Regions from separate parts of the Homo sapiens genome. Here all the other regions are linked to region 3. The links are contacts of gene promoters, found by promoter capture Hi-C in blood cells and fetal thymus (Javierre and others, 2016). All regions are on one chromosome and are shown on one strand. Each heading gives the region's core, a stretch centred on a gene start or on the middle of the fragment in contact. The rest is flanking DNA. Distances are from core to core; before and after follow the strand shown. Region 1 overlaps SLC28A1 (solute carrier family 28 member 1). Region 2 overlaps PDE8A (phosphodiesterase 8A). Region 3 holds the start of ZSCAN2 (zinc finger and SCAN domain containing 2). Region 4 overlaps ALPK3 (alpha kinase 3). Region 5 overlaps PDE8A (phosphodiesterase 8A).

Region 1 (4,259 bases), core at 1,232-3,731, 290 kb before region 3:
CACATAAGAATGGATAGCAGAGGGGGAGATGTCTCTCCCTAGATTTTTTTTTTTTTTTTTGGAGATAGGGTCTCACTTTGTTGCCCAGGCTGGAGTACAGTGGCATGATCTCGGCTGACTGCAAACTCTGCCTCCTGGGTCCAAGCAACCCTTCTGCCTCAGCCTCCCGAGTAGCTGGGATTACAGTTGCCCACCGCCATGGCTGGCTAATTTTTGTATTTTTGGTAGAGACAGGGTTTCGCCATATTGCTCAGGCTGGTGTTGAACTCCTGGGCTCAAGTGATCCGCCCACCTCAGCCTCCCAAAGTGCTGCGATTACAAGCGTAAGCCACCGCGCCCGGCCTCTCCCTGGCTTTTGAATTTCAGAATCCAGGATCTTCGAAGAATGGAAAGGACTCATAGCCATGGATAAAAAATGTGATCTGAAACATCACGAATAAAGGTAAGTTCTACCCAACCCCTCTGGTACAGGCAATAACAAGGACACTGGTATCACAGAGAAAGCGCCTGAGCCTGGCAAGGCCGCCAAGCCAGGTGTGTTTGCAGCATTGCAAGCAGTGAAGCCCTGTGACTGGCTTCCTGGTCGAGTCCCAGGGAGGTCCCAGGACTGCAGAGAGAGGAATGCCCGTGTGGTGCGTGGCAAGCAGGGCCCTAGAAAGCCAGTGAGGCTCTGCAGGCACCAAAACAGCGGAACTAGTCTCCACGAGAGGCCTGAAGAGAAGAGAGGCGGGAGACCAGAATGAGCCCACCATGGAGAAGAGGGGGTCGCCATGGCCACCTGCAAGGATAGAGGACCCAGGACCAGCTGGAGAAGTGGACAGGTCAGGAGACACTTGAGGAGTAATGATAGATAAGCCCCCCCGGTGACCCCCAGAGGAAGGGATGAAGGGAGGTTCCAAATGGACAGAAATTGAGTTCCCGTCACTCACTGGAATGATAACATTGAGGGAGAAGATAAGTTGAGTTATAAAAAATAAAATGACCTTTCTCTCACATGGAAGCTTGTGGGCTGGAGTTCCTACCTGAACGGGTGTCATTGAGACACACGGGTGGAGCCCCACAGAGCGGTGCTGGGGCTGCTGGCACCGGCCATGGGGGTTCAGGGGAGGGGGACCTGGCCAGGGAGAGGCTCCGTGGTCGCCAGGAGGTGAGCTTGGCACTTCAGATGCATTTTCACAATGAATCCTCACAAGACCCCTACAAGGTGGGGTCTACAGTGATGCCCACTTGGAGAGGGAGGCCTCTGAGGCCAGCCGAGATGAGTGCCTCACACAGGGAGGGCATGGGGCTAGGAGGCCAAGAAGGTCTGTGCGCCTCAGGGCCTGTGCTTTGTGGTCGGGGCGGGCCAGGAAGGCTGGGGGGGTCTGGGCAGGCCAGGATGGGGACTCAGGGAGAGGGGGCAGTGTGGAGGGGTCCTCCAGGAGGGGCACAAGGACAGAAGTGCTTTTGGAAGTATTTTATTCATCTAGGATCCATTCACAGGGATTGGTTTGGGGACGGGCAGGACCTGAGCTAAGCTCCTTGAAGACCTCCCTGGGCTTTGGCTGGGAGAGCGGGCAAGAGGCACCTCCTTCTTCTAAGACTGGGGACACCAAGGCCATCCTTGTTAGTCTGATGGTGCCAGCGCTGTCGCTGCACCCATGGAGAAGGCCTACCTAAGGCAAGCAAGCCACTGTCGCAGCTCAGGAGCCAAGTCCTGAGAATATGAGCCTCATTTCTCTATCACAGCTATTCCCAGAACGTCTGTGAACAGCCTCCCCAGGAAAGAGGTGATGTAATAAAGATATTGAAAAGCCAGAGAAATCAAAGTCACCCAGAAACAGAGAAAGTCACTGCTGACCATTGCAAGGGATCATTCAATGATTCAGATTGCATTCCTGACAGCCATGGCAAACATGGAAATAGGATGAGTGGGGTAATTTTCATTCTCTACTGGAGAGAATTCAATTGTTCTTCAAGAGAAACAAATCAGATCTGAGTGAAGGAGGCAGCCAAGGAAACAGAGATGGCCCTGGCTTCAGACCCTGCCAAAGGTGGACATCACCATCTCTAGAAGGAAGCTGTGAGGGACATGGACCCACCCCATCTCAGCAGATGACCCTACTTTCAAGTTCACCAAGCAGACCAGGTCATTGCTGTCGCCTCTCTCACTGCCCCTCCCCTCCAGAGCACCTATAATGACTCTGCATCTGTACCCATCCTCCTTTTTCTTTTTTTAAAATTTATTTTTATTTTTAAAATTTTTTGTAGAGGTGGGGTCTTGCTGTGTGGCCCAGGCTGGTCTCAAACTCCTGGGCTCAAACAATCCTCCCACTACAGCCTCCCACTACATCCTCCCAAAGTGCTGGGATTACAGGCATGAACCACCTGCCATGCCTGGCCCCTCTTTAATTCCAACCTGTCAGAATGAGGTGAGCTTGCTCCTGCAAAGACCCACCCCTCCCGGTGGGGTGGGGAGCTTTTCTACTCCGTGCCAGGGGACCTTGCTCCATCGGACATCTCTTCATCTCCCATTCCTTCATATTCCTTCTACAAACTCCCCACCTCAGCTCGTACAAACAAAGTGTCTCCCACCCCAAACTCATGCCCATCCTTGACACTGGGTCACACCCTGCCCATTCAGCCTCCCCGCCTGATCTCATAAAAATTGATCCAAAAAGCCATTTACACTTGCTGTCTGCACAGCCTCATCTGCCATCCGCTCCAATTCAGTTTTTGCACCTACACCCTAAGTCACCAGTGGCCTCCTTGTCCCTAAATCGGTGGACATGGCTCAGTTTTTGTCCTGCGGGTCTTGCAGAGATGCTGCTGATCTTTCCCTCCTTGAAACCCTTGCTCCTTTGGCTGCCGCCAACCCCTTCTGTGTGGCTGGTCTCCAGGCTTCTGTCCTTGACCCACTTCTCAATTCATTCTCCAAGTGTGCCTGGGGAGCCTCCTCTCTCCCTCAGATGGCCTGGCAGTGGTACCTCCAACAAACTATCCTAATTATCCCCCTTCCTGCCAAGACTCCCTCTGCACGCATGTTCTCTAGCTCTGTGGAAGACACCATCATCCTCCTATCACCCGAGCAGGCCCCTGGGGCAGCCCTAATTCAGGGTTTCCTTCATGCTGCACACCCAGTCATTGCCAAGTACAGCTAGCATTGCTTCCCAAGGACCTCTCCCATTGCCCCCGCCCACCTTCCACAGCTTCATTCTCACACAGGCATTGCAGTCCTCAATGTCTCCATCTCCCCCTCTTTCCTGCCCTCCTTCCAGGGTCCCACCGTGTGAATTCCACCTTGACGCTTCCCTGTTCAAAACCTTCAGTGGCTCTCTCTGGCCTTGAGGGTAAAATCCAAGTCCTTGAGCATCCTCCCATATCCCTACCCACTCCCCATCCTGGGCCCTTTCCTATCTCTCCAGCCCCATCCCCTGACACTCCTTGTCTAGAACTTTACCCTCCAGACCTTACAGTGCAGACGTCGAACTTTATCGAAACCCACACCCTGCCAGTTTTCACCTTTGCTCCTGTGACTCCTCTGTGTGGAGTGCCTTTGCCCTCCTTAGTATCTATCACCTCCACCTGGCTAACTCCTACTTAGCCTGTGAGACTCCAATGTCACCTCCTCCTGGAAGTCCTCCCTGATCATCCCCCATTCCTCCTTGGTGTTCCCAGATGACATGCTGCATTATGTGGGACTATTTCTTCCGCCTCCCTTACTGATGAGGGAGTGCCTTGGGAACAAGATCTGGCCTGGCTTAACAGATGCCTCAGTACCCAGCAAGGGAGCTGGACCTGAGTTGGTGCTCAACAACCATTTGTTGAATGACTGGGTGAGTGAATGACCCTGCCCTGAGACATGGATAGCTGAGGCAGGAGTCATTGTGTCCTGGGTAGTGCTGGGCCCCAGGCTCACCAGTGCAGAGCAGGCCTGTGCCGATCCATCGAAACAGCTGCATGTGCTCCCTGCAGAAGCTTCTGGCTCTCAGGGCTGGCTGCAGGTTCCTCCTGGGAACAAGACCAGCAGGGTCCATGAGTGCATGAGCAGACCCCATCTGGGGGAGATCCTCAGCACCTCCACTCAGGTATGTCCCCAGTAAAGTGGCAACAGGGGCAAGCCAGGGCTTGCCTTGACATCCCCACAGGGCTGCAGGGCAACCCCAGCCCAGGGCAAATGTAGAAATGGTTCAGGCCTTCCTGCCTCTGTGGCAGCACCCACAGGCCCCACTACCCCAGTGATAGTCCCTGCCTCCAGGGCTCAGGAGGAAGTTCACTGA
Region 2 (4,548 bases), core at 217-2,716, 390 kb before region 3:
ATGTAAAATACAGGCATTGGGTACACAGGGGTACCCTGTGAAAAATCCTTCAAGATTGCTGTATTTTGAGATTTTTCATAAAATGTTAAAAATACTAAAAAACAGTAAACAGCCACAAGGCAGCCTTCTGGAATGCTGGAAATGTTCTGTCTTGATTTGGCTGGTGATTACATGGGAGCATGAGGAAAATTCATCAAGCTGTACACTTAGGGATTTTGTACACCTTGGCTGATTACATTTATAACTCAATAAAAAGTGTTTTTAATACAGCAATCAGAATAGGACTTTAAAGTGAGTGTAATTAATATCCTCAAAGAGATAAGGAAGTATGCTGCAACCATAAAACATGAATAAGCAATTAAGAAAAAAGAGCAAACCATAGACTGAAGACAAAAACTCAAATTTAAAAACTCAGTGGGCTAAAGAGCTGAGTAGACCTTGAGGAATGAATTCGTGACTTAAAATATTGAGCTAAAAAATCCTCCCAGAAGATAGCACAGAGAGGGGAAGTAAAAGAAAAGTGAAGAGACACGGAGGACAGATCAAGATGCGTCTCAATCTATCTTTTGGAGGGAGCTGCAGAAGAGAAAATGAGAAAACTTAAGGGGACAACATTTAAATAAATAATAGTTAAATGTTTCCTAGAACTAAAAAACAAAACTGCTTAAAAAATATTTTTGTTTTTTGCTTTTTAAGAGACAGGGTCTCACTCTGTCACCCAGGTTGGAGTGCAGTGGCACAATCATAGCTCACTGCAACCTCAAACTCCCAGCCTCAAGCAATCCTCCCACCTCAGTCTAAGTAGCTGGGATTACAGGTGTGCACCACCATGCCCAGCTAATTTATTTATTATTATTTTTTTTTATAGAGAATGGGGGTCTTACTATGTTTCCCAAGCTGTTCTCAAACTCCTGGCCTCACGTGATTCTCCCATCTTGTCCTCCCAAAAGTGCTGGGATTTACAGGCATGAGCCACTACGCCCAGCCCAAAAAAGTTTTTAATTATAGTTATTTAAAGCAATCTACATGGATGGAAGGAAACACACCACCATTTTAAGAGACATTATCTCCTGACTGTGCAATTTAAGTGATTGTACAATTTAAGTGATCCTTGTTCTTTTTTTTTTTTTTTTTTTTTTTGAGATGGAGTCTCGCTCTGTCGCCCAGGCTGGACTGCAGTGGCGCGATTTCGGCTCACTACAAACTCTGCCTCCTGGGTTCATGCCATTCTCCTGCCTCAGCCTCCCAAGTAGCTGGGACTACAGGCACCTGCCACCACACCCGGCTAATTTTTTGTATTTTTAGAAGAGACGGGGTTTCACCGTGTTAGCCAGGATGGTCTTGATCTCCTGACCTTGTGATCCGCCCGCCTTGGCCTCCCAAAGTGCTGGGATTACAGGCATGAGCCACCACGCCCAGCCGATCCTTGTTCTTTTCTATATGTTTCAAGTTTTCTACAATGAATATGACTTTTACAATCAGGAAAAGTAAAAGTTTATTTTTATAAGATGAACTCAGAACCAAAAGACAAGAAAGGTTTTTTAAAAACTCCCTAAATTCGCTTTCCTGTGACTTCTCCCTTATGCTATTACAGTGAACCTGTTTCTGTAAGTGGTCACCACAAACTTGAACAAGTCATTCAATCTCTGAATTTCTGCTTCTTTAGGCCTTAAACAGGGAAAATAAAATCCCTCCTTTCCACCTCCCCATGGTTTGGGGAACATCAAATGAGATGAGGTACAAAAATAGCATTTGGTAAACCATAAAGCACTGTACAAATTGTGGCATGTTATCACAGTCCTTCTAAGCTGGTAAACCCCAACCTCTGAGTCACCCTCCACTCTCCGCCCTTTCACTCACCAAGTCCAATTTGTCACTAGTCAGTTTTTCCTTCTCTCATTCCCTCCTCTCCCAAACTACTGCACTAAGTTAGTCATACCTGGTCATACCTTGTGCCTGAACCACTGCAATAGGTCCTGCATAGTGCCCCACCTCTAGCTGTCCCTCACCCCACCTACTGCAATTTTTGCCTGAAACCTAATCTTCATGAAACATGTTTATCCTTTGACTACCCCGCTGAAAATGAAATGCCTTTGGGAGTTCTCTGAGGTTTATAGGATGGACTTCAAACTCCTCAACCTGGCTTTTAGACCTCCCGTCCTATCTCTGGTCAGCCTCCTCATAATTGGAACATGCACCCAACCCCCGTACCCTTCCTTCCCCTTATCCAGAGATATATTTTCCACTTATCCACATCCTCCCAGTCTTTTAAGCCCAGGTCAAACCTCTCCCTCCTTTCCTCTTTCTATACCTTATGACCAATCCAGACCAAGCTCTTGCCTCCACAATCCATCCCCCAAGGTGCCATCATCACTTCCAGGTCAGAGACCTACCCCACCTTTCCAGAAAGGACTAATTGTTCCCTGAGAGCAGGGCCTGTTATCCTCCTACAGCCTCTATATTAGGCACTCAAATTAACATGCTAAACATTTAAGTCCTTAAAATAAACTTTATTTGCCTGAACTGATTTTATGGTAAGTTTTAACACCTATGTGTGTATTACTATATATTGTTTAGCTATTAATCTTTTTTTTGTTGTTAGAGATGGGGTCTTGCTATGTTGTCCAGGCTGATCTCAAACTCCTGGCCTCAAGTAATCCTCCTGCCTCGGCCTCCCAAAGTGCTGGGATTACAGGTGTGAGCCACCACTCCCAGCCTATCAATCTTTAAATAAAAAGAATCATAACTTACAGATTTTTTGATGGCTTCTTCTTTCTCTCCACTGAGATTTATCAAAGTTAATATCTAAAACTATAATCCATTTTTCACAGCTGTGAAGTATTCCTTTCTTTGAACATATCATAACTTTTTTATCCATTATGTTGTTAATGGACATTTGGGTTTTACAGGAAAGTTTGGAATTAAAAGTAATGCTGCTCTGAAAATTCTCGTACATGTTTCCAGTAAAGATATATAAGAGTTTCTAGAAGAGAAGCTGCTATGTCACAGGGTCACATATTCAACTCTACCTGGCAATGACAATGGGTTTTTCCCTAGTAGTTGAACTAATTTACACCTCTACTTAATGTTGAGCAGTTCCTCAAAATACTGCCAACCTTTTAAATGTCTGCCAATTTGATGAGTATAAAATGTTATTTCATTGTGGGTTTAATTTGCATTTCCCCAATGAGGTTGAAAACCTTTTCATATAGTTATTAGCTATTTGGTTTCCTCTTAGTGCTGTGCCTGTCCCAACCTTTTCCAATTTTTCAACTGGGCGGTTGTTTTCTTATTGACTTTTAGGACCTCTCTGAATACTAATCCTTTATTGGTACTATGCATTGCAAATGTCTTCTTCCAGTCTGCCGCTTTCCTTTTCACTCTCTTTTGATGAGAAGTTCTTTATTTTAACGTAGTTGAATTTATCAACCATTTCCTTTATGTAAATGCCTTGTGTAACTTGCTTAATCAGTCCTTCCCTACCCAGAGGTCATAATGTTTATATTTCCTTTTAATAAAAAAGTATTAAAATAAAAACTTTAAAAAGACAGCAATACAGTAAATGAACAACAAGCACACGGAAAAAGTACTCAAAATCATCAGCCATCAAGGAAATACAAATCAAAACCACAATGAGATACCACTACACACCCACCAGAATGGCTAAAATTAAAATACTGATTAACACCAAATGATGGGAAGGATGTAGAGCAACTGAACTTTTATTATACATTGTTGGCATGAGTGTAATATTGGATAACTATTTTGGGAAAAGGTCAAGCAGTTTCTTAAAAAGCTACACATATACCTATCCTATGACCCAGCAATTTCACCTCTTGGTATTTAACCAAGGGGAATGAAAGCACATGTCCACAAAATAATGTGTACTAGAATATTCATAGTAGCTTTAGTCATAATAGCCAAAAATTAGAAACAGCCCTAGTATCCAATAACAAAAGAATAGATAAGTGAACTGTGGTTTCTTCATGTAACAGACTACTTTAATTAGAAAAAAGAACAAACTACTGACTCGTGCAGCATAGAAGAATCTCAAAAACATTATGCTGAGTGAAATAAGCCTTATAAAAAAAGAATAGACTGTAAGGTTCTATTTACATGAAATCTAGAATAGGCAAAAATAATTTATAATGGAAAAAATTCAGAACAGTGGTTGCTGGTGGCTGGGGGTAAGAATGGAAAGGGAGCACAATAGAACTTTTGGGGGTGATTATAATATTGTGTAATTCTGTATCTTGACAGAGATTCATAGTACATAGACATATACATTTGTCATATCTCACAAATGGTACACATAAAATTTACACATTTTACTTTATGGCATTTCACATTTAAAAATGTAAACTTTGAATTTATTTAATTTTGAATTAATTTTTTTTTGAGATGAGGTCTTGCTATATTGCCCAGGCTGGTCTCGAACACCTGGGCTCGAGCAATCCTTCTGCCTCAGCTCCTGAGTAGATGGGACTACAGGTGTGTGTTACCATGCCCAAAGTTCAAATTTTGCGCTCTAGTACTTGATATACATAC
Region 3 (4,010 bases), core at 924-3,423:
TAAAGATAATAACACTCATGTTTCTGTTTTTATGGGGGCATCTTAAGGATCAGCAATGGATCAGATGTCAAAGCACTCTGAGCTTCTTTGGAAGAAAGGCAATATCTCAACTGCATTATTACCATACTTTAAGTATGAAGTTTAAAACATGCATATACTCTCCAATCCAGCCTCGGCCCCTCAGTACTTTATCTTAAAAAAATAACCAAAAAATCGAGTCCTTAAAAATCCAGCAGCAGGGAATGGCTAATAAACTATGACACACCCATATAGCAGCATGTATTAGAAACTGTGCTATAGGCTTGGCGTGGTTGCCTGTAATCCCAGCACTTTGGGAGGCCTCGGCAGGCGGATCACTTGAGGTCAGGAGTTCGAGACCAGCCTGGCCAATATAGTGAAACCCCGTCTCTACCAAAAATACAAAAATTAGCCAGGCATGGTGACGGGCGCCTGTAATCCCAGCTACTCAGGAGGCTGAGGCAGGAGAATTGCCCGAACCTGGGAGGAGGAGGTTGCAGTGAGCCGAGATCGTGCCACTGCACTCCAGTCTGGGCGAAAGAGCCAGACTCTGTCTCAAAAAAAAAAAAAAAAAAAGAAAAGAAAAGGAAAAAAAAGAAAAGAAACTGTGCTATAATAATGGCTACCTTTAGGTGGTAATGACAGGAAAGGGGCTCAAAGGAGCCTTCTGGGATGATGGAAATTTTCAATATCTTCATTTGGCAATGGCGGCACAAGAGCAAACATATGAAATTTAAGATCTGCACATTACGCTGTATGTTTTTAATATTTTAAAAATTATATTGACAAAGATTAATCATTAATGATTTAAGATAATCCTTCTGATAGGAAAATAATGGATAAACACAAAATCAGCAGGGCAGAAAAACCATAGACACAGTAAGTCCTCAATTCCCTTTAAAAATGAACTCACAGCCGGGCGCGGTGGCTCAGACCTGTAATCCTAGCACTTTGGCAGGTTGAGGCGGGCGGATCACCTGAGGTCGGAAGATCGAGACCAGCCTGACCAACACGGAGAAACCTCGTCTCTACTAAAAACAAAATTAGCCAGGCGTGGTGGCGCATGCCCGTAATCCCAGCTACTCCGGAGGCTGAGGCAGGAGAATCGCTTGAACCCGGGAGGCAGAGGATGCGGTGAGCGGAGATCAGGCCATTGCACTCCAGCCTGGGCAACAAAAGCAAAACTCCGTCTCAAAAAAAAAAAAAAAAAAAAATGAACTCACAGGAAAAAAGAACGGGACGGCACCTACAAAATATTGAAAGCAGTGGAATTGCAAACGACTTAAAATATTATAAAAGCAATACAAAATTATTTTTAGCCCAAGCGCTGTAGCTCACGCCTGTAATTCCAGCACTTTGGGAGGCCGAGGAGGGAAGATGGCTTGAGGCCGGGAGTTCATGACCAACCTGGGCAACAGAGTGAGACCCAGTCTCTACAAAAATAAAAAAATTTTTTAAAAAATCATTACTACATCATAAAGACTCAACTAACAACCCTCCCTCAATGAAAAGGGGAGAAAAGCTGACAAAAGCTTAAAAAAAAAAGGACAAAAAATAAAAGCTAGTGGGAAAACCGAAGCTCTCAACGTGTATTTACTCAAATGACTAGAAGAAATACTGGCATATGGTGTAAGAGAACTCTTCCTACTTGGGAGCCTGGGAAAAGTGTGCCAGGTCAGCTAATTTGCGGTCTGACTTGGGGCACGACACGCCCCCTCTGAACCTCAGTTTCCCCATCTGTAAAACGTGTACGCTGCGCGGGATGTCGTCGAATGCCCCTTCCCGTCCAAAGCCTGCGCTTCTCGGTAGGAGAGGCAAGGAGCTCTCCGCCAGGGAGACGCGTCCGGGACGGTTCGCTGAGCGGAGCCGGCGCGTAAATCGGGGCTGCAGGGCCCGCAGGATACGGAGCGCGACCCCGACGCCCCTCCCCCAGCAGAGCTGCCGGCAGCTGGCTCCAGGCCCACTATTCCCTCACCTCGGGCTACTGCCCGGGGTCCGCGTGGCTCCAGGCCTGCCTCTCCGGCTCACCTCTCGGGAGACCAGGTCCTGCTCTAGCGGTTGCTTCGCGTGCGAAAGCGCCCCCGGGCTCGGCCCGGCCCCTCCAGATTCACCCCGGCTCAAGCCCGTGGGGCACCGAGAACAATGGACGGGAGAGGCCCGCCCACCGCCGCGCTCATTGGCTGCCGAGAACGGCCCTGGAAATTCTGCCTTTCTGTTGGTGGAGACGGCACCCAGCCGGGCGGCAGGAGGGAGGCTGGGCCCAAGGCATTGTGGGAGATGTAGTCCGCCCGGAGACGAACCTGACCGCGGTCCCCGGAGTAGGGTTTGGGGCTGACAGCCTGGGCAGTGCCTGCGGACCAGAGGCAGGAAAATCCGCAGACTGACCGTCAGAAACCCTGTGTTGGCTAGAGCTGTAACCCGAGACAAGCCGTTTCACTTATCTAAGGCCTCTGTATATTTGTCTATAAAAAGTGAAAGTTGGATGGCCGGACTTGAAGGACCTTTTCGGCTGCGAACCTTGTGGCAAGGAGTATTGTTAGGCACCCTCGACCGGCGAGAGCGGACCCTGGGCAGGAAGGGAATCCATGGGGGAACAAATCCTCATCGCCCAAGCCTGGCGCCTTTCCCCCAGTTTGCAGCTGTACACATGCACCCGGTCTTCGCACACCCCTTTGTTTTCGCACGTGGTATTCCTGTGTTTGGAGGAACGCCCTGCCCCGCCTCCTCTGCCGCGGAACTCCCATTCTTCCAGCTTCTCCTGGGTGGAGCCTGCCCTGTCATCACCACCTCCCCAGGCAGAGACACCGCCCCTAGTACACGTGTTGGACGTCCCCATTTTATTTTTTAAATATATATATGTATGTATTTGTATATATATATATATATTTATTTATACACACACACTCACAGACAGGATCTACATTTCATAGAGACAGGGTTTCCATATGTTGCCCAGGCTGACCTCGAACCCCTGGGCTCAAGCGATCCTTCCTCCTCAGCCTCCCAAAGTGCTGGAATTACAGGTGTGAGCCACCGCACCTGGCTGACGTCTCCATTTTAGTACTGATCACCGGGTTGCTTACTTGTCAATCTCAGTATGGGGGAAGGGAGGGTGCCCGGGTGTGGGAGGTTGGCCTCCATCTTTGTGTTTTACGGCTGGCGCTGTTGAAGAAACGGCTGCCCCAACCCTGCTTGAAAACAGGTGAGAAACTACCTGGAAACTCAAGCGGAAAATCTAAAAATGGAGAGAGACACCCTTAATGGTCTGTGATAGAATAGTTATGTATGTTTGCACTGAGCAATTACTGGAGGCACCTGCAATGAAATGACTGCTTTTTTTTTTCCTCCTCTGTCGCCCAGGCTGGAGTGCAGTGACACGATCTCGGATCAAGTGATTCTCCTGCCTCAGCCTCCCAAGTAGCTGGGATTACCGGCGTGCGCCACCACACCTGGCTAATTTTGCGTGTTTTTAGTAGAGACAGAGATTTCACCATGTTGATCAGGCTGGTCTTGAATTCCTGACCTCAGGTGATCCAGCCGTCTTGGCCTCCCAAAGTGCTGAGATTACAGGCATGAGCCACGTGCCCGGTCCTTTTCCCATTTTTAAATTGGATTTATTTGTAAGAGCTCTTTGTATATTAAGAAAATTATCCCTTTGTCACAGCAGTTGCTACTCTTTCTCAGTTTGCTGTTTGTTTTCTGCTGGTTTATTAAATATAGAAATTTGAAATTTTTTTGCAGTCAAATTTGTTAATCTTATCTTTTTATAGCCTGTGAGTTTTGTGTTAGAAAGTCCTCTGCACCACTCCAAAGATTATGTGAAATTCACCTGTTTTTCACTAATTAACCTCTTGAATCCAATTACAGAGATGCAAAGTGAAGTTCAGCTAGTGATTCTTATCCAATACCCTGGTAGCATCTTTATTATCCCAGACTGACCACATGCAAATAGCACCACCTCCAGGCCAGCCTGAGAAGTCTGCACTAAGCCC
Region 4 (4,070 bases), core at 130-2,629, 270 kb before region 3:
GCGAAAGTAGCTGGAAGGAGAAGATACCCTGAGAGTCACCAGGCCAGACCAGCAGAGGAAGTCTGGATCCCTGAGGACAGGCGAGATCAGGGCCAGGCAAATGCAGGAGGGTAAAAGTTGGCCTGCATGTCCTCACTCAGATTGTAACATCTGCTGCTGGACTGGGCTGGGGCAAGGGCTTGGGGTGCAGAACTCATGCAGAGGACTCAGGGGAGCCTCCAGCAGTGGCAAAGTGTAAACTTCAAGGAGGGCCTAGGTTGCCAGGCACTTGGAGGTGGGGACTGCTTGAGGCCCGGGAGCCCTGGGTGACAGTGGCACCAGAAGAGGCCAGTGGGCTATGTGCCATGCACCAAAGCCATCTGATGACGAGCTGATTCACGAGAGCCTGCTCAGAGAGGTCCCCAAGTGGTGTCTCCTTCGTGCACCTTCTCCAGTTAGTTCCATATTTGGAAAGTCTCCATCCAGTTCAAGCTGCTTCCTGGTTGGTCTGCTGCTGGGTGGAGGCCCCCAGCCTCTGCGGAGGCTACCGCATGCCCTGGGCCTTGGAGCCCTCCTCTTGGGTGGGAGGCTGTCCCAACAACTGAGTGGTGACTGGCTCTGAGGCCTGAGGGGTGGCCTTGGAACTTGGAGCACTCTTCCGGGTGCCCTGAGGACTAGGGAGGCCTTTCTTCTGGGGCTGAGGACTCAGCTGGGAGCCTTTCCTGCCAGCAGATGGACTCTTAGAGCCTTTGGCTTTGGCTTGGGGGTGGGCCGCCTCCGGGCCCTTGAGAGGTGTCAGCCCCAGCAGCTCACAGTAGGCATTGCACTGGTGGGAGGAGGCGAACCGGTCCAGCAGGGCAGGGAAGCAGCTTTCCTTGAGGCCCTGGTATCTGCAGCCAGACAGGAAGAGCTGAGTGGGGGTCCCAACCAGAGACACAGTTCCTTGGGGGGCGGACTCTGGGGTGGCCATCATCAGGATGTCGTGCTCAGGGTACATCCTACCTTATCTGAGGGTGATGGGGACTCTCCCTTGGTGCTACCTCAGGTGGCAGCAGCCAAAACCTCAGTTTTTCTTTTTAAAAAAATAGAGACAGAGTCTCTCTACTTGGCCCAGGCTGGTCTCAAACTCCTGGGCTCAAGAAATCCTCCCTCCCCAGCCTCCCAAAGTGCTAGGGTTAGAGGCGTGAGCCACCATGCCTGGCCCAAGGCCTCAGTTTTAAAACTGTGGTCTCATTACACCCTGACACATGGAATCCATCACGCAGGACTTTAAATGGCATAAGAATGGCTTAGCTTCTGAACATAAATTGGAGCAGACTCGAGGTCCGCACTCTCATCACAGGACCCTTACTCATCGGCACCTTGGCAACCATCCTCAAGCGAGAGGGGAGGAGTATGTGAGAGCTCTGGATTGCAGGGGACCCCATGTGTGGCATCAGTAATAGCTGCCACACCAGGCCAGAGATAAGGGGTGGGGACCAGTAGCCCCTAGGATGTTACCACATGGCCATGGGTGTGTCTGGGACCACTTGGCCCCAGGCCCAGCACCTCAGGGATGGAGAACCAGAAGGGCTTAGGACATTTTACACCCTGAGAAGACGCCCAGAGGGCATTCTGTCCCCAAGAACCACTCACCCTCGGAGTTTGGTAGCAATCTGCACATCAGTCATCTTCCAGTCAACCCCTGAAAAGAGAGAAAGTTGGGAGTTGATGCCAGTCTGGGCTGGCTCTAAGCCCCCACATCTCCAGCAGGAAGATATACTGGGTGGCTTAGAACCATGTCTCTTCCTGCTGGAGACATGGGGGCTTAGAACCAGCCCAGGCTGGCATCAACTTCCTGGGTGTCAGTGCAGGTGTGTCTTCAAGCATCTTCTCATGGGTCATCACCACCAGCCTGTCTCACAGCATGCAGGTCTCTGGATTATTACTAGGAATAATATTCATATTTTTACAAGTGAGGAGGATAGGCTCAGAGTTAAATGGCTTGAGCAAAGTCATACTCACTCATTCAATAATTGAGCTCTGGCCATGTGCAATGGCCATTTGACTTAAAATAAGGGTTCCGTTTTTTTGGATTCCTAGAGCCAAAACTCTTCCAGCTATGCAATCCTGCCTCTACTGGATCAGACCAGGTCACAACCTGGACCAGCCTCTAGCTTTGAGCTAAAACCTTCATCCTCTGAACAGATCAGTAGTCTGTCCAGACAAAAGAGAGGGATGGGAATGAGAGGATAAATCAGGGGTAGACCAGCAGAAATGCAACACTACAGAAGACTGGCTTCTGCACTACTTACAAAGGCAGCAAGCAAGCAAGAAGCCAAGATGGTCTTCCAGGTTAAGCCTTGGAAGGGCAGAGCCAGGCAAAATGATGATAGAGAAAAAACGTTTTCACTGTGCTCAGGCCACCCAGGTATCTTAGTATTCACACATTAGGTTTAGGATGCTCTTTCCCCCATTTTCAATCTGTCCAGAGCATTTTGCTAGGAACCTGCCTTTCACTAACAGGGCTGAGTACCATCATATGATAGACAATAACAAATGTGGCCTCTGGAGTCAGACAGACCTGGATTTACATTTCAGCTCTACCACTTCTGAGCTGTGGGTACTCGACAAGTCACTTCATATCTCTAATCTTCAAGTGTAAAGGTGAGGATAGTAATGACCATCTTACAGAGTATTGAGAAAATCATAATATGTGTAGGACTCTAACTTAGTGTCTGAAACATAGGACTAATGTGATAAATATTGATTTATTTGTCATTTCTCTTTTGGCATTCATAGCATTCCATTTTGTGTAAAAATGATGATCTCTCTCATTTGCACAGAATTTTAGTTTGCAGCAGGTTTTCACAAATATGGTCTCACTTAATCCTCATGAAAAATCTGAGTGCTAGGTAGGAAAGACATTATTCCTAGAAAGGGAAAGGAAACTGAAGCTCAGAGAGATTGAATGACCTAACCAGGGTGAGCTTCAGTTTTCTTCTTTGTAAAACAGACTCAGCTAGAAGAGAATGGGGCTTTGACTTAAATCAAATTTATTTTTTTCTTTATTATTTTTTTGAGATGGAGTCTCACTCTGTTGCCCAGGCTGGAGTGCAGTAGTGCAATCTTGGCTCACTGCAACCTCTGCCTCCCGGGTTCAAGCAATTCTCAAGCCCTGCCCTCCCAAATAGCTGGAATTACAGACAGAATTTTTGTATTTTTAGCAGAGATGGGGTTTTGCTGTGTTGGCCAGGCTGGTTTCGAACTCCTGGCCTCAAGTGGTCCACCTGCCTCGGCCTCCCAAAGTGCTGGGATTACAGGCGTGAGCCTCCGCGCCCAGCCGACTTTAAAGCCTTTCTACTATGCCACGTTATCGTCTCACAGTAGAAACTGGTCTACTCATCACAGCTTCTTGAGGACGATGACATTCCTAATTCAACTTTTTATTTTTTCAATATTTAGTAATGGTTGGATGGAAAAAGGATGGAAGCATGAGTTTATAAGTTAACAAATAGGTTGACTGATAATGGCTTAATGTTACCTAGCCCGCCCTCCCCCCAGTATATGGAGCTATATATATAATAATTATCGTACAATTTAACCCCAGTGAAACACACATTTGAGTCCGTTTTATATCTCTGGTCTCTAGTTTTCTCACTTATTTACCACAGAGACAAGATTTAATGATGTGTGATATTCCCAGCAACCTCTCCTTCCCCTGAGCATTTTCTCTGTTCCTCTCCTCTGTCCAGTTCTGCTTAATGACAGTAGGCCTGCAGAGAGCTGGTTGAAGAAGGAAGGAGGGTTCATGCCTGCTGGCCTTCCTTTGTTGGGGAGTTCTGGGTAATGGGGGGCGTAGGAATAAAACTAAAAAGAAGCTAGACTAAGTTGCTTTACATAACGAAAAGCTAACAAAGATGGAGGAGGAGGAGAGACAGTAAAGCTACTGGGCTAAAATGGAAGGGAGAGTTTGGGAAGCTTGGAGAGTGAGAAAGTCTAGAGCAAAGCTGCAGGGAAGGGAAGAAGGGAGGTTTTTGAAAAGGGTGGTTGTGGGTTTTGAATTAGACCCCATGTAATGGTCTTTGAAATAAATTCCTTTTTACTTTTAA
Region 5 (4,462 bases), core at 488-2,987, 410 kb before region 3:
TAACTAAAAACCATAGTGAGATATCACAAAATATTCTATGGCAAGGCAGTAGAGAAATAATACTTTCTGATACACTGCTGGTAAAAATTCAGAATGGTACAACCCTTATAGAGGGAAATTGAACAACACCTAGCAAAATTCACATTAAAAAACAAAAAAGATGACTCTCAGCACTTTGGGAGGCTGAGGCAGGTGGGTTGCTTGAGCCCAGTAGTTTTGAGACCTGCCTGGGCACCATAGTGAGACTCCATCTTTACAAAAATTAGCCAGGCGTGATGTGGTCCCAGCTACTCAGGAGGCTGAGGCAGGAGGATCACCTGAGCCCGGGAGGTCGAGGCTCCGGTGAGCTGTGATTGCACCACTGCTCTCTAGCCTGGGCAACCCTGTCCAAAAAAAAAAAGACTTATGCACAAGGTCATATAATAATGTAGGGAAACAACTCAAATGTTCAAATGTTCACCAACATGAGCTGGTTAGCTAAGGTATAGACAGATCAAGCCGGTGGAGCACTGTGCTGCTAAAAAAGGAAGGAGGAACTGATTCAAACTATTAATAAAACATGGATGAACCTTGAAAACATTATGCTAACTGAAAGAAACCAGACACAAAGGCCAGAAATTATATGATTTTACTTAAATCAAACGTTCATTGGTAAATTCAGAGAGACAGAAAATAGATTAGTGGTTGCCAGAGGCTGGGGGTGTAGCGGGTAAAGGGGCAGGAGGCAATGGGGAGGGACTGTTATTAGGTACAGGGTTTCTTTGATGAAAACATTCTAGGATTAGTGGTAATGGTTGCACAACTTTGATTATACTAAAAAACCAATGAATTGTCTACTTTATAAGGGCGAGTATATGAATTATATTTCAATTTTTTTAAGAATGAACAATTCCTCCATAGACAACTATGGAGTGATCCCAAGGATATGCTGTGAAGCGAGAAAAGCAAATCAAGAGTACTATGTACAGTATGCCACCATTTCTCTAAAAGGGGTATAAATATATGAACATCAATATAGGTAATAAGAGCAATTGACTGAAACATATCAAATACATTAAAATACTTAACTTCATAGTAATACAAATAACATTTAACAGGTCCCCTTTGGAGGATATTAGGAAGTCAAACCATTATTCTGAAAACTGGTATAATAAATGGAGAACAAGAAACAAGCATTTATCCTGCCTATGCTATTCAAACTTTATCACATAGTTAATGAGAGGAGCTTCTCTTTATAGAGGTATTCAGTATTAAATGAAAAAGTAATGAGAGAATTAGAATATCACCATTTGCCGCCATATCACCACTAATGAATGAAATATGTGATGACTGTGGCCAGGACTAGTGGCCCGCACCTGTACTTCCAACTCCTCGGGAGGCTGAAGCAGGAGAATAGCTTTAGCCCAGGAGTTCGAGGCTGCATTAAGCTATTATCATGCCACTGCACTCCAGCCTGGTAGCCTGGGGGACAGAGCAAGACCCTGACTTTAAAAAAAAAGAAAAAGAAAAAGAAAAAGAAAGGAAGAAAGAAAGATGTGATTATCATCACAAGATCGTGTATCATCTCCACCCTGAATCAAGGCTGGTATATGTAATGCATAAAATACAGTGGAACTGACAATATGTAGTCTAGGCTAGGTCAAACAGGGCATTGTAGCTTCTGCTTTGACTTCCTGGATCACTTCTCTGCGGGAAGCCAGCGGGTACCTGAGCAGCCCTGTGAAGCTGACACACATGGAGAGGAATTGGGCCTTTCCTCAAACCCCAAAACATCCTGCACTAACTTGGCCAATCATATGAGTGAAGCACCTTGGAAGTGAATCCGCTGGCCCACTAAAGGTTTTGGATGACCAAAGACCCAGCCAACACCTGACTGCAACCTCAAGAGAGACTATGAGCCAGAACTATTGAGCCCCGCTTCTCTCAAATTCCTGAACCAAAGAAACAGTGAGAAATAAATGCTTATTACTGTTTTAAGCCAGTAAACTTTGGGGTAATTTGTTATGCAACAAATACAACATAATTCTACTTTTGTACATGTTATAAATTCTCCACAATAAAATATTTCAAAATACTAAGTTGAGTAATTACAGACAATCCTTTAAACACAATTCCTTTATTCTGGCAAACACATATAATAGATTAAATTGAAGGAGAGGAAGAAAGAGCTAATAAAAATTTGTTGCTTTTCTACCTCACTGCCTTAAGAAAAGTATCATTTATCACATTATCTCAGTTAATCTCAAAAACTCTAAAAGATAGAATTCATTATTCCCATTTTGCAGATAAGAAAAGTGATGCTCAGAGAAGATAATAACTTGTTAAAAGTGCACAGTGGTAGAGGCAGGGTATAGGAAGTCTCTGTTCTTTCCACCACATCTCAAAGCCCTTTTAACCTTGTAATTTCTCTATCAAGCCCATCAGGATCAAAGTTGCTAAGGTCCAAATCTGTGAATTTTGTATGTAAATACTACCTTCCATCCCTTACAAAACATCTCTCTGCTTCCCCTGTTCTCACCAACAAATGCAGGGTCATTTAGTGTAGCCCTTAATTCTAAGCAACTAGAAATTGATGAAGAAAGAAAAAAGTGACAAGAGTACAAAGCTCCATTTAATATCCCCAGATTTCTGTTTAACTGTGGATGGGGCTGTTCTTCAGGAAACGATTATTAGAGTTAACAGTGGATCAGGTTCTCCAAAATTCTCCCACTCCCACTCTTTTGTTTCCAAAGTAAGAGGGTGATTATACAAGCCAATATAATATTATATTTCCTTCTTTGTTCCCAAGGGTAAATTGTATAACTGGGTATTATATAATCATTTATAAATCATCAAAATTAATTTCCAAATAAATTCTTAAAAAGAAAGCCCTAATCTACTTTTCGGAGTCTAACAATACTGTATGTTAAAACCATTATTTTCTTCTTTTTTTTTTATTCTATTATTATTATACTTTAAGTTTTAGGGTACATGTGCACAATGTGCAGGTTAGTTACATATGTATACATGTGCCATGCTGGTGTGCTGCACCCATTAACTCGTCATTTAGCATTAGGTATATCTCCTAATGCCATCCCTCCCCCCTCCCCCCAACCCACAACAGCCCCCAGAGTGTGATGTTCCCCTTCCTGTGTCCATGTGTTCTCATTGTTCAATTCCCACCTATGAGTGAGAACATGCGGTGTTTGGTTTTTTGTCCTTGTGATAGTTTACTGAGAATGATGATTTCCAATTTCATCCAGGTCCCTACAAAGGACATGAACTCATCATTTTTTATGGCTGCATAGTATTCCATGGTGTATATGTGCCACATTTTCTTAATCCAGTCTATCATTGTTGGATATTTGGGTTGGCTCCAAGTCTTTGCTATTGTGAATAGTGCTGCAATAAACATACGTGTGCATGTGTCTTTATAGCAGCATGATTTATAGTCCTTTGGGTATACACCCAGTAATGAGATGGCTGGGTCAAATGGTATTTCTAGTTCTAGATCCCTGAGGAATCACCACACTGACTTCCACAATGGTTGAACTAGTTTACAGTCCCACCAACAGTGTAAAAGTGTTCCTATTTCTCCACATCCTCTCCAGCACCTGCTGTTTCCTGACTTTTTAATGATTGCCTTTCTAACTGGTGTGAGATGGTATCTCATTGTGGTTTTGATTTGCATTTCTCTGATGGCCAGTGATGGTGAGCATTTTTTCATGTGTTTTTTGGCTGCATAAATGTCTTAATTTGAGAAGTGTCTGTTCATGTCCTTCGCCCACTTTTTGATGGGGTTGTTTGTTTTTTTTCTTGTAAATTTGTTTGAGTTCATTGTAGATTCTGGATATTAGCCCTTTGTCAGATGAGCAGGTTGCGAAAATTTTCTCCCATTTTGTAGGTTGCCTGTTCACTCTGATGGTAGTTTCTTTTGCTGTGCAGAAGCTCTTTAGTTTAATTAGATCCCATGTGTCAATTTTGGCTTTTGTTGCCATTGCTTTTGGTGTTTTAGACATAAAGTCCTTGCCCATGCCTATGTCCTGAATGGTAATGCCTAGGTTTTCTTCTAGGAAAACCATTATTTTTCTAACAATAAAGTTGAAGCTTCCCTTTTAGGCAACTGCAATTTATTGAGTGTTTTATAATTTTTTACACATTGACAGACCATTTTACATTCAAAATTTAATTAAAACTGGACAACTACCACCACTTTACAAATAAGAAAAAGCTAGGGCCCCGAAAGGTTATGAAACTTGCCAAAGGTCAAAAAGCAGGGAGAGACAGGGTTGAGTTTTGGACCAGTACTCTCTGGCTCCAAACCTGTCTTCTAACAACATTACACAAGAAGAAAAAAACCCTACAAAAATCATCCAGCAAATAAAGTGTAATGTAAATGTCTCATCTTCAATTCGTCTTCCTACTGGGCCAATCTGAACATTGCTTTTGGCTTAATTCTGTCAGGTTAGAATGGTGAGTGAGA

What was found. The method cuts DNA at HindIII sites, captures the fragments that hold promoters and counts their contacts. A CHiCAGO score of 5 or more calls a contact.
Region 1: a contact is called between a fragment that was not itself captured here and the fragment with the promoter of ZSCAN2 in region 3, in 1 of 17 cell types (M0 macrophages). The highest score is 5.7, in M0 macrophages.
Region 2: a contact is called between a fragment that was not itself captured here and the fragment with the promoter of ZSCAN2 in region 3, in 1 of 17 cell types (naive CD8 T cells). The highest score is 5.2, in naive CD8 T cells.
Region 4: a fragment that was not itself captured here is called in contact with the fragment with the promoter of ZSCAN2 in region 3 in 13 of 17 cell types (erythroblasts, M2 macrophages, naive CD4 T cells and 10 more); the score reaches 8.8 in erythroblasts.
Region 5: a fragment that was not itself captured here is called in contact with the fragment with the promoter of ZSCAN2 in region 3 in 1 of 17 cell types (naive CD4 T cells); the score reaches 5.6 in naive CD4 T cells.

What each region holds. Positions count from the first base shown.
Region 1 is chr15:84,890,174-84,894,432 of GRCh38, reverse strand. It overlaps SLC28A1 (solute carrier family 28 member 1), which reads right to left. Exons shown (of 19, transcript NM_004213.5): 5 at 3,899-3,990. Among named protein-coding and RNA genes, the nearest start is that of SLC28A1, 7.6 kb to the right of the region's middle. RefSeq lists an enhancer at 4,188-4,259. The HindIII fragment of the contact is 2,956 bases long and covers 1,004-3,959 here.
Region 2 is chr15:84,990,035-84,994,582 of GRCh38, reverse strand. The region is part of intron 1 of PDE8A (phosphodiesterase 8A); the gene reads right to left. Among named protein-coding and RNA genes, the nearest start is that of PDE8A, 10 kb to the right of the region's middle. RefSeq lists a silencer at 1,691-1,985. The HindIII fragment of the contact is 8,126 bases long and covers 1-4,548 here.
Region 3 is chr15:84,599,172-84,603,181 of GRCh38, reverse strand. It overlaps ZSCAN2 (zinc finger and SCAN domain containing 2), which reads right to left and starts at 2,173. Exons shown (of 3, transcript NM_181877.4): 1 at 2,047-2,173. LOC105370947 (a long non-coding RNA gene) reads left to right here. Exons shown (of 4, transcript NR_186225.1): 4 at 3,379-3,748. RefSeq lists a silencer at 1,806-1,955 and an enhancer at 2,276-2,325. The HindIII fragment of the contact is 3,007 bases long and covers 1,553-4,010 here.
Region 4 is chr15:84,864,910-84,868,979 of GRCh38, reverse strand. It overlaps ALPK3 (alpha kinase 3), which reads right to left. Exons shown (of 14, transcript NM_020778.5): 13 at 1,615-1,663; 14 at 1-869. The coding sequence ends at 524. Among named protein-coding and RNA genes, the nearest start is that of SLC28A1, 18 kb to the left of the region's middle. The HindIII fragment of the contact is 5,124 bases long and covers 1-3,941 here.
Region 5 is chr15:85,011,183-85,015,644 of GRCh38, reverse strand. The region is part of intron 1 of PDE8A (phosphodiesterase 8A); the gene reads right to left. Among named protein-coding and RNA genes, the nearest start is that of PDE8A, 32 kb to the right of the region's middle. The HindIII fragment of the contact is 4,702 bases long and covers 1-4,088 here.